2 separate regions of the Homo sapiens genome follow, and region 2 is linked to region 1. Evidence: promoter capture Hi-C in human tissues and cell types (Jung and others, 2019). All regions are on one chromosome and are shown on one strand. The core of a region is centred on a gene start or on the middle of the fragment in contact, and the rest is flanking DNA. Distances in the headings are between cores, read along the strand shown.

Region 1 (5,654 bases), core at 1,686-4,185:
TCAATAATTTCTTCCACATCCTGACACCTGAATCAAGACATAAGTTCTCATCTAGGTAACAAACTATTTTCTTTCACAATGAGGATAAACCATCTCTGAATCTCAGATTTGCTCTTTTTTTTTCATCCTGGCCTTTTGCCACCACAGAAAAATGTCTGATAGGCTGAGTTTTCACATTGCAGCTGGTTACTGTGATTATGTAGACACAGCCTCAGTAAATTCAATGGTGTGTTGCTGGCTGTTCAATAGCTGGTGAAATTAATGCCCAGGGAAGTGGGAAATGGGCCACCACAATCAAAATGTGGATTTGGAACTTGCTCTTTATTTTATCCCACCCTTACCCTCCCCTACACCCCTGTCTTTGTGCTAATGCCAGCTACGTGCCAGGTTACTGGTATTCTCTTCCTCCTCCCTCTCCCCTTATAAGTAAACCAGCTCAAGAGAAGCCCCATTATCTTAGACTTAATGATACATTGGGAATGGTGGGAACTGAGTTCATGATACCTCACTCTCACCCCTACCCTGGAAGATGCATGAGAGAAAGGATAGCAGGTGCCTTCGGGGGCCACTTTATCCAGCAAGAGAAGCTGACCACCTGGAGCTACGGGATCTCAAAGATCATCTAAGCCAGGTCCTATCTGCAGACAGACTAGTCTGAGCCACCCAGGACCAATGACAGCCTCTCCTTTTAATAAAGACCCCTGACAGAGGGCTGCCAAGTTCTTCCAGTCTCACACCCCACTGTGTAGGTCATGAGTGGCTGCAGGAGCAGAAGGAGCACTGTCCTGTAGGCCAGGGAAACAGAGTTTCCTAACCAGCTCTGCTCCTGACCATCTTGCCAAGTCTCTTTCCCTAGTGCACCACCTCCAACACAGGAAGATAAGCAAACCAAGGTTCTGAGAGCTTCTGAAGATCTAAATCACTATAAACTTGTGAATCTCTTATTATCAAATCTTCAAATACAGCTTAGGGCAATTTAATTATAATAGAAAATAATCCATTTTCAGGACTGTCTCTACCACAGATTTCTTAACCCGAGGGAAACCCCCTGAAATTGTGTATTTTGCACATGTGTGGAGTCTGTGCACTTTGCTGGGAGTAAATTAAAACCTTCGATACGTGTATGATAACCACCTGCCTCCCTTCTCAAAAAATAAAAATAAAAAGAGGTTAAGAGCTTACCTCTAGGTTGAGAAGCTTAGATGTAAGTCATCCTGAGTGACTTCTGTTTTCCCCACCCGTGAATATCAAGTTATAACAAGTATCAAGAGCAGAAGGTGAGAAACCCAAGATGCAGGCTTGTGAACTGGAGTAAAAGAAGGTATCAGGCTTTACTTTTCAATCTCCAGCTGCCACTGCCCATTGCTCTGCCATATATTTGCTAGCCTATGACCTCAGGAATCAACTGACTCTCTCTGAACCACTGTTTCTCATCTCTCAATGAACAATGGTTATGCTTCTCTCAAAGAATTGTAAAGTCTCAAAGAAACTGAGTAAATGCATGGCTATCAGTAAGCGCTCAATTCATGGGAGTCCCTGCCCAGCACCAGTGGCTCAGGCCCCAAAATTAACTACTCAAAAGGCAGCTCCATCTATAACAGTGGTTCCATCCCCTACCTTGCCCCGGGGGAAAAGTATGACACAGTAGCTGAGTACCCAACTTTGGGAGAGACCCCACAGTTGAGTTCAGTTCCCAGCAGCTCTCCTCCATGCCTTTGTGAACTTGGGCGAACAGCTAAACTTCCCCATAATTTGGTGTCTCATCCATGAAATAGAAATGGTGAAGAGTGTATTCTTTCTCTCATGAGAGTCATGAGAAAATGCAAAAAGAACTCAGCACACTGTCTAGGACAAAATAAATGTTGGATAAATGTGAACTAACATAAAGTTCTTTGGCTTTTTCTTTCTTTCTTTCTTGGCCCATACTTTCTCTTCTAAGTACCATTCACCCACCTTTGGGAGTGCGTCCCTGTGACTGAATGTCCAACATGGATATCAGACAGAAAGGAAAAAACTCAACAAATAACCAAGATCCTCTACGTCCCTTCCCCAGGTCTCTGACCTCCCTCACCCCCACTCCCAGATAGCCAGCTAGCTTCCTCCCTCAATTCCCTTCATGTTTCCTCAAATATCACTTCAGTGACATCCCAAGCACCCACTTAACATTTCAAATCCACCCCACAAACACCCCACTGCATTTCCCCCTCCTTACTTTATTTTCAGCCTAACACCTGTCATCACATTACACACCTCATCATTTGCTTATTTAGTATACTGTCTGTCTTCTGTCGGGAGAAGCTACGCTCCTATAGGGCAGGAGTCCGTCTATTTTGTTCAGTTGCTATGTTCACAGCGCCCAGAGCCAGGGCAGAGAGTGGAGACTCCGTAAGAATCGGCTGAATAAATGAGTGAATGCCTGAGCGAATGAAAGGATGAAGAGAAGCCAGATTTTACTGGGGCCAAAGAGTTTGCACGGGGCGAGGGGAGCCAGATGAAGGATGAGGGCTGGCCTCAGATCCGACTCAAGTCCCTCCCACCTGCCCAATCCTAGAATTCTCTTTCCCTCTTTTAGGTGCTGGACAAGTTGCATATCCCGTTAAATCCGGGGCCCACTCCGGGAGCCCCCTATTAAAGGTAAGCAGCCCCCAACCCACCTTTGACACGGAAGAGTGACTAGCGGGGAAAATAACCCCAGCGGGCCGCCTAGGGGTGGGTGACCCGCGATCTCCACGCCCAGGTCCCGCCCTCGCGGCCCCTGCCCCCGCCCCGCCCCCCGCAGAGGGCGCGCCCTGGGAGCGGCGGGGGACGCGGCTGGCTTCCCGGCTTGCGGGGTGGCGGCGTCGGGGCTGCGGGCGCCTTGGCTGGACCCGCATTGCCCCCTAGTGCCGCGCGGAGTCAGGGCGCCGGGCTCCCCCGCCTGATGTCACCGCCGTGCAGTCAGCCCAGAAGCGGCTCATTGAAAGCAGACCCTCTTCGGCGCTCGCTGGGCGGAGGACGCGCCGCGGTCCGCAGACCCGAGCGAGCTGGGCACCGCCGGGCGCCCCCGGCCCTGCCGCCCCCTCCTCCCCGCCGCTCCCCCGCGAGCCCGGCCAGGCGCGCCTGACGTGGACCATTAAACTTGGAGCTGCCGCCTCGTCCCCTCTCCTCCTCCTCCTCCCTCTGACAGGCGAGCGAGCGACTCGGTGCAGGCAGGAGACGTGCTGCCGGGCTGGGCTGCCCGGGGGAGATGACTCCTCGCCAGGAGGGCGCCTCTGGGAAGAAGACCACGGGGGAAGCAAAGTTTCAGGGCAGCTGAGGAGCCTTCGCCGCAGCCCTTCCGAGCCCAATCATCCCCCTGGCTATGGAGGGCGGACTCTAAGATGAATCCCGACCTGGACACCGGCCACAACACATCAGCACCTGCCCACTGGGGAGAGTTGAAAAATGCCAACTTCACTGGCCCCAACCAGACCTCGAGCAACTCCACACTGCCCCAGCTGGACATCACCAGGGCCATCTCTGTGGGCCTGGTGCTGGGCGCCTTCATCCTCTTTGCCATCGTGGGCAACATCCTAGTCATCTTGTCTGTGGCCTGCAACCGGCACCTGCGGACGCCCACCAACTACTTCATTGTCAACCTGGCCATGGCCGACCTGCTGTTGAGCTTCACCGTCCTGCCCTTCTCAGCGGCCCTAGAGGTGCTCGGCTACTGGGTGCTGGGGCGGATCTTCTGTGACATCTGGGCAGCCGTGGATGTCCTGTGCTGCACAGCGTCCATTCTGAGCCTGTGCGCCATCTCCATCGATCGCTACATCGGGGTGCGCTACTCTCTGCAGTATCCCACGCTGGTCACCCGGAGGAAGGCCATCTTGGCGCTGCTCAGTGTCTGGGTCTTGTCCACCGTCATCTCCATCGGGCCTCTCCTTGGGTGGAAGGAGCCGGCACCCAACGATGACAAGGAGTGCGGGGTCACCGAAGAACCCTTCTATGCCCTCTTCTCCTCTCTGGGCTCCTTCTACATCCCTCTGGCGGTCATTCTAGTCATGTACTGCCGTGTCTATATAGTGGCCAAGAGAACCACCAAGAACCTAGAGGCAGGAGTCATGAAGGAGATGTCCAACTCCAAGGAGCTGACCCTGAGGATCCATTCCAAGAACTTTCACGAGGACACCCTTAGCAGTACCAAGGCCAAGGGCCACAACCCCAGGAGTTCCATAGCTGTCAAACTTTTTAAGTTCTCCAGGGAAAAGAAAGCAGCTAAGACGTTGGGCATTGTGGTCGGTATGTTCATCTTGTGCTGGCTACCCTTCTTCATCGCTCTACCGCTTGGTAAGTTGGGGACTAGCAGCAGGGGGACTGGGCATTTTTGGACCTTGGGTTTACTGATGAGCTTACTCTAAAGTTTTTTGTGGGTTTTGTTTCTTATGCAGTCTGTGCGTGTTCGGAGATTGAATAATATTGTTTGTTCTGCAAAGGGTTTGCAGATTGGGGAGCTGGCTAAAAACCAACTCAGGTGTTAGTAGAACACGCTAAGGCACTAGCTTCTGGAAATAGAACCAGGGAAGGAAAATCTGGTATGAGGAATGACTCACTCAACAGCCTCGGTTTAATAATTAAAAAGGATATTCACTGGGCTTGAATATCACACCGGCGTTATTTCAGTAGTAATGATGTGTCGGCTAAGGCAGCGTCACTAATGCAGCATACAAAATAGTTTGTAGTTACTGCAGACGCGGCATTTGGGAAGCAGGGAGGCAGCTCGTACACAGAAAGGCAGCATTCATTCAGCATTTCCAGGGCTAGAGCAGAAGCCACGCTTCTCAAGAGCTTTGCAGAGGCTGCATTCTCTCCCTCCCCTCTTCACTGACAGCTATCACCCAGATATACTACGTTCATTATCCGTTAATAAGAGCATTTTACAGCCACACAGCCCCAACCAGCCTTTAAGTTATTGAAAGCTTGAGATGTGAAAGAGAAGATGACTAGAGGGTCACACATTTTTAGTTTTTACCCAAAAATGTTTCTAACTCTAGTGATTTATGGAATGCCCAGAATCAAATTATAGTTGTCCCTCATCTCAGCTGACAGAGACCAAATCCTGGTAAGATGGAATTCAGTGCGTCCTCCCCCTCTTATGAAAACATGTTCGTCTTCTTTTTGTTTGGTGGTCCTACTAACTGAATTGTTCAAAAGGCTACCTGATGTTTTCTAAGGAAGAAGCCAAGGTCTGGTTAGCAGGTAAACCTAAAGGGGGGCATCTGTCACATGCTGTCCACATGGCCTGGGGATCCCTTGTCCTTCCTCTGAGGCACTGATCTGCTTTGATTCCTTCTCCTATCCCTGGGGGACACTACAGAAAATGAATGGAGGGAGTTTATCATGACACAGTCATGTGCCATGATATCAGGAGAGGTAACAGCTGCTATACTGCGGACCACATATGCCTGCAATCACACCGGAGTCTCAGGTCAGACCCAAATATAACCAAATCCCTCAAACAGCTATAAATTCTGAAGGCACACTGCTTTCAAGAGAAAAATGCAAACAGAAAGGAAGCAAACAGATATCGAGTTTCCATTTAAAAAGAAAGAAAAAGATTTTCAAAAGCCGTCTAACCTTTTCTCCATGTCATCTTTTCTAAAGCAGGCCTGCAGGCTAATGCCTTTCAGAAATAT
Region 2 (5,550 bases), core at 480-2,979, 46 kb before region 1:
TTGACCACAGTCAATATACTGAAAAGGACCAGAGGGCAGGAAACCCATCAGGTTCATGGGAGATCATAGGAAGAAGGACATAGTTTCCAGAAATTATCAGTTTTAAAAGGAAACTTAACTTGACTCTAAGCAAACCATTCAACCTCTCTGGACCTCAGAGCATCTCTCATGTTGCTTATAGCTCTAATATCCTGAAGCCTCAAATCAAAAAGGCAGCAGAGATTAAACAACATATTGTAGAGAAAAACCAACTGAAATCGGGCACACATACATATTTTGTAATTTTCAACTACAAAGTAAAGAGATTATTATTACCACTATGAAAGCATTTCATTTCAATTCAACAAGCATCATGTCAGTCCCCAGGGTTACAGAGCTGAATACTCCTACTCTATTCCACCCTGGACAAACCATTCCTGGAAAGCCTTCTATCCAGGTGTGGATGCCTCAGTTTAACAGGTATAGCAGTACACTATGGTTTGGCCAGAATCTGGAGATATAGCTGGAACATAGGCTGTCATCTAAGTGAAAACTCTTATCAGAGCTATATGAGAGGAACTAAAGTTCTTTTAAACTACTGAGAGCAGAACAGGTGTCCACAGGTAAAATTACCACAGAAGTGGATTTCAGTTTTATGTAATGAAGATCATCCTAGTTATTAGAGTTGCTCACTGGAAAAGCTAATGAATCCCATTGCAAGAAGTATTTCAGAACGATCTGGAGAACTAACTCTTAGAATAGTTGTAGAAGACATGTTTGCACTGGCTAGGCAATTAGTCCAGAAGATACACAGTAATATTGATCATGATTCATTCATTTATTCAACATACATTAGTGAACACTTCCTGACTTTGGGGCTGGCATCCCTGGGTTTAAGTCTCCACTGTGCTACTTCCTAGCTGTGATACCTTGAACCAGTTAGTGTCCCTGTATCTCAGTCTCCTCATCTACAAAATGGGAATAATAATCGCTCCTGCTTCAGAGAGTTATTGTGAAGATAAAAGGAGATGATTTATGTAAAGCAGTTTTGAACAGTGTCTGGCACATAATACATAGTCAATTAATATTAGACATTAGTAGCAGTAATATGTGATATGTTACTGCTGTAATATATTGCAGCCAATGGCAGGCACTGGGCTAGACACTGGATTACCATGGTTAAGAAAACAGACATCAATCCTACGTTTCTTGAGTTTAAAGTCAGCCAAGAGGTTGGAGGGTGTAAAAGACAGTAAACAAAAAGTCACAGAAACAAATAGTTTCAAAATGTGACAATGCTATGAAGGGAAAAAAGAGAATTCCATGATAGCATATAACAGAGAGGAAGGAGACTCATCTAGACTCGGAGGTACAGGGAAGGGTTCTCTGAGGAACTGACACTTAGGCTGAGTTGCAGTATAGACGCATCCCTGTACCAGTGATTTAGAGGAGTGGCCTCACGCTTGACTTATTTTAAGTCCACAGAGAAAGCAAGCCATCTATCTGCAAGAGTGTGGCATCACCTGGCAATCTGATTCCCAGTTTGTGCATCAAGACTCACACTGGCAGTGTAAATGTAGACAAGCTCTCTTTGCTTTAGCTATTAGATTCCATTTAATTTTTCTCTGAAATCTATAAACATCAATAAATCCATCCATCCATCCAACCATTCATTCAATGATCCACTGGCCTATGGGAGATTCAAAGATATGTAGCCCCCAATGTCAAAAAATTCTGCAAGGGAAGCTGATGTGTGTATAAACTCCTGTAAGTGAAGATACATGGGAGTGATGGAGGGAAATGCTATGGAATTTTGAAGAAGTTAGAAATTCAGCACCAATCCGGGTGTGAAGGGAGAAGTTGTTGGAAAAAGTGGCATGTTAAAGTATGCTGGGGGATTCTAAGCAAAGTGAACGCAAAGGAATCAAATCTTATTCAGCATTTGTGTTCTAAAATCAATGCATAAAGCCAAAAAAAGTCATAAATAGAGGATAGTCAAAAGTTCCCTTGAAAATCCCTTATGAGAGACTGTGTTGGAAAATGACACTGTCTCTCAAGAAATCCAATACAGTCACTGTGTCCTGTAGTCCCAAAATCAATTGTTGTTGCTTCAGCTGAATTCGTGAGCTTGCTTTAAGGGGCCAAGTTGTATGAAAACCATGAAATCTTCCACATTGGACTCACACATGTTGTGATGAGATGCTCATCCTGTGGGAAGACCATAGAAGAGGTGAGGAGGAGTAGTTGTGGCCATGTTTCCTGCAACCTGCAGGGCAGCACTCACCATTCAGCATGGAAAAGCAGACAGAGCTGTCCCTAGCAGCTTAGCCATCAATTTGCTCTGCTCTCAGCCTCCCTCAGTCTATTCATGTTATTTTTTGCCAACTAAATAGTTAACTGTGCTTGCATTAAATATAAATATAATAATGTGTCCAATGCAACATGGTTAAAAACCCGAGGTCAGCAAACAGCTGGGCTATTCAGGAAACAGCTCAGTGGCCCATTATAACTGGAAGTTGGGGTCTATATTGGTCTCTAAGGCTCCCATAACAAAGCACCACAAACTCGATGACTTAATGCAACAGAAGTTTATTCTCTCATGGTTCCTTTTGGAGAGCAGAAGTCTAAAAATCAAGGGGTCAGCAGGGCCACACTTCCTGTGGAGGCTCTACAAGAGATTCCATCCTTTGCCTCTTCCAGCTTCTAGTGATTCTAATTCCTTGGCTTGCAGCTCCTCCCCTGTGTCCTTATGTCTCAACTCTCCCTCTCTTTTATTTTATAAGGACAACACTCCTTGAGCTTAGGGCCCACCCTAAATCTAGAATCATCTCATCTCAAGATTCTTAACATCTTCAAAAGCCCCATTTCCATTAAAGTCACATTCACAGGTACTGGGGTGGTGGGGTGGGGTTAGGACTTAGACGTATCTTTTGGAGATCTGCTATTCAACCCAATACAAAGTCTAAGAAAGAGAATTTTAAAAGTAGATTGAAGCCCTGTTTTGACAGTCTTTGAATGCCAATTTTGAATGACTTTGAGGTTATAGTTCTCTTTAGAGTTGTGATGGTGGCAACTTTTACTTACATGCTATTTAAACATCTCTCTGCAGGGTCTCCTCCTCTGCCTTACTGTTCCTCTCTGACACCCTGGAGCCCTTCCCTACTACTTTATGTACTCATGAGGGATCCTGCAGGACAATAAGCTTTGATAAACTTGATAAACTCCAACATTGCTTTTTCATGTCCTAATCAAAATGCCCAACTTGTATCATATCCTCTACATGAGTGACGATTAATCAACTAAAATAATCTTATAAGATTAAAATACTCTCATGATTAATCAAATAAAATAACCTTATTTTAAAATAATAAAATAATTAAGGCACTGGCTCGTCAACATTGTTAGAAATTGCACATGTGGCCTTTTGAGTGTGTCTATGTTAATGAGTGCTCTTGCTTGCAGAGATGCAGCTGCTGCTGGGGACACCACCTGAAGCAGGGAGGGAGAAATGCCCTAACTAGCTGCTTCTTCTTGTCCCCAAAATATCATTGGCCAAACTCAGCTAGAAGCCAGCTGATGCAGGAGCCTGGGAGCTACAGCTTGCAGAGATAAGATCCCTGTGATACAGAACAGAGGTGGGAAGGGAAAGACACTATGGGAAGACAAGTGGGCCCTGGACCAGCAAACTATTATTATCCCCATTTTACAGAAAGGGACATGGAGCTCAGAGAAGGTGATGTGATTGCCTAGAGTCATGCAACTGGTGAGTATGAGTGTGGACTTTGAATCCAGGTCTGTCTGAATCATAAGCCTGAGGTCTTGCCAGTCTTGCCTGGCTCTCACTACCATCATAGAAATTTCACTTGCTTTGTCTGACTGCTTGGTCAAGAGATAGACCAAGGTCCTGAGAGGCAGTTTCATGGCTCTGAAATCTGCAATAAAACCTTCCTTGGATTCAAGATCTGGGCTTTTATAAAAAAAATTCTGGGATACATGTGCAAAACGTTCAGGTTTGTTACATAGGTATACATGTGCCGTGGTGGTTTGCTGCACCTATCAACCCATCATCTAGGTTTTAAGCCCCACATGCATTAGATATTTGTCCTAATGCTCTCCCTCCCCTTGCCCCCCACCCCCAAACAGGCCCCAGTGTGTGATGTTCCCCTCCCTATGTCCATGTGTTCTCATTGTTCAACTCCCACCTATGAGTGAGAATATGCGGTGTTTGGTTTTCTGTTCCTGTGTTAGTTTGTGGAGAATGATGGTTTCTAGCTTCATCCATGTCCCTGCAAAGGACATGAATTCATTCTTTTTTATGGCTGCATAGTATTCCATAGTGTATATGTGCCACATTTTCTTTATCCAGTCTATCATTGATAGGCATTTAGGTTTGTTCCAAGTCCTTGGTATTGTAAATAGTGCTGCAATAAACATAAGTATGCATGTGTCTTTACAGCAGAATGATTTATAATCCTTTGGGTTTATACCCAAGATCTGGGCTTTTTGAAGGGCACAGAGTTGCAGGGCTCCAGCCTCCTTCAGGAAAGAACCCACTGAGTCCGCTGCTGCAAGTGCCATCAGCAGACACTCCAGCTGTCAGCATGAGCTTGGCAGCCTCAGCTGCAGAGAGCCACCTTGCCCAGGAGAGTACCCTTCCCTGACAGCACATACCCAATCACTGATAAAGGCTCAGTCTTTTCAGCTCACTGAGGACAACTCTAATAAACATCACAGTTCAACTTCTGCCTCTGTTCAATCCTGTTTCCTCTCCCTTCCCCAAGTGCCGATCCCTAACAACAAACCCTGACTATGACAGCCTATGACAGGACTTTTCGTTGTTATTGTGCTCATCTCAGAGCCCCCTCAGTCTACACATATACTGGATGATGGTGGCAACAGGAGTGAAAGCCATGGCAATGACCATCGTGGAGGTGGTTTCACCTCCTTCCATCTCTAGACAGTGTGCAGGCCTGTCCCCAGTGGAATTTTTCTGGTTAATTTAGACAGAAAAACAAATGGAGATACCATGAAATGATGAGGCACTCCATCATTTTTTTTGATGATGATCCATTGCTTCATTCCCCCAGAATGAATCACCAAAATAGTATTTGATTGGAAGGTCAGTGGAAGTACAACCATCAGCTTTTTAACCCCACCTCTTTGTTTTTTTATGCAGAGGGCAGAAAATGTCTTCTGGACGACTTACTGTCTTGATAGTGTCTTCATACTGGAACAGAAACACAACCTAACATTCTGTAGCCCTTCTGGGCTATTGGGGTCTTCTCTCTAGAGGTAACTAGACTGGTTTCTGCCTTTCTGTAAAATATTCCCTCTGAAGATTCCCAGGATGCTTGGAGAAGTGCTCAGACCCACTGATTTCTAATACCAGCCCCTAGAGCCACAATAAAGGCCTGAAGCTTGGTGGGGCTTCCAAAAGCCATCAAGTCCACCTCTCTGCCCTTGGGAAGAACCTCCCACCACCACCAACATACACATATTTTCTTTCTTCAAAATGAAATAAATTCCTTATTTTCTTGGCTATCCCAGCTCACCACTATCCAATCAGATGAC

Evidence for each region. Contacts are between HindIII fragments. The study calls those that stand out against the background at their distance.
Region 2: a fragment that was not itself captured here is called in contact with the fragment with the promoter of ADRA1B in region 1 in 2 of the 25 tissues and cell types used here (aorta and heart left ventricle).

Annotation. Positions count from the first base shown.
Region 1 is chr5:159,913,547-159,919,200 of GRCh38, forward strand. ADRA1B (adrenoceptor alpha 1B) reads left to right here and starts at 2,936. Exons shown (of 2, transcript NM_000679.4): 1 at 2,936-4,308. The coding sequence starts at 3,360. RefSeq lists a silencer at 2,770-2,829 and enhancers at 2,893-3,509, 3,510-4,126. The HindIII fragment of the contact is 5,190 bases long and covers 146-5,335 here.
Region 2 is chr5:159,868,823-159,874,372 of GRCh38, forward strand. LINC01847 (long intergenic non-protein coding RNA 1847) reads right to left here and starts at 2,562. Exons shown (of 3, transcript NR_109891.1): 1 at 1-2,562. It also overlaps a transcript of ADRA1B not described here. RefSeq lists an enhancer at 4,960-5,550. The HindIII fragment of the contact is 5,117 bases long and covers 1-4,288 here.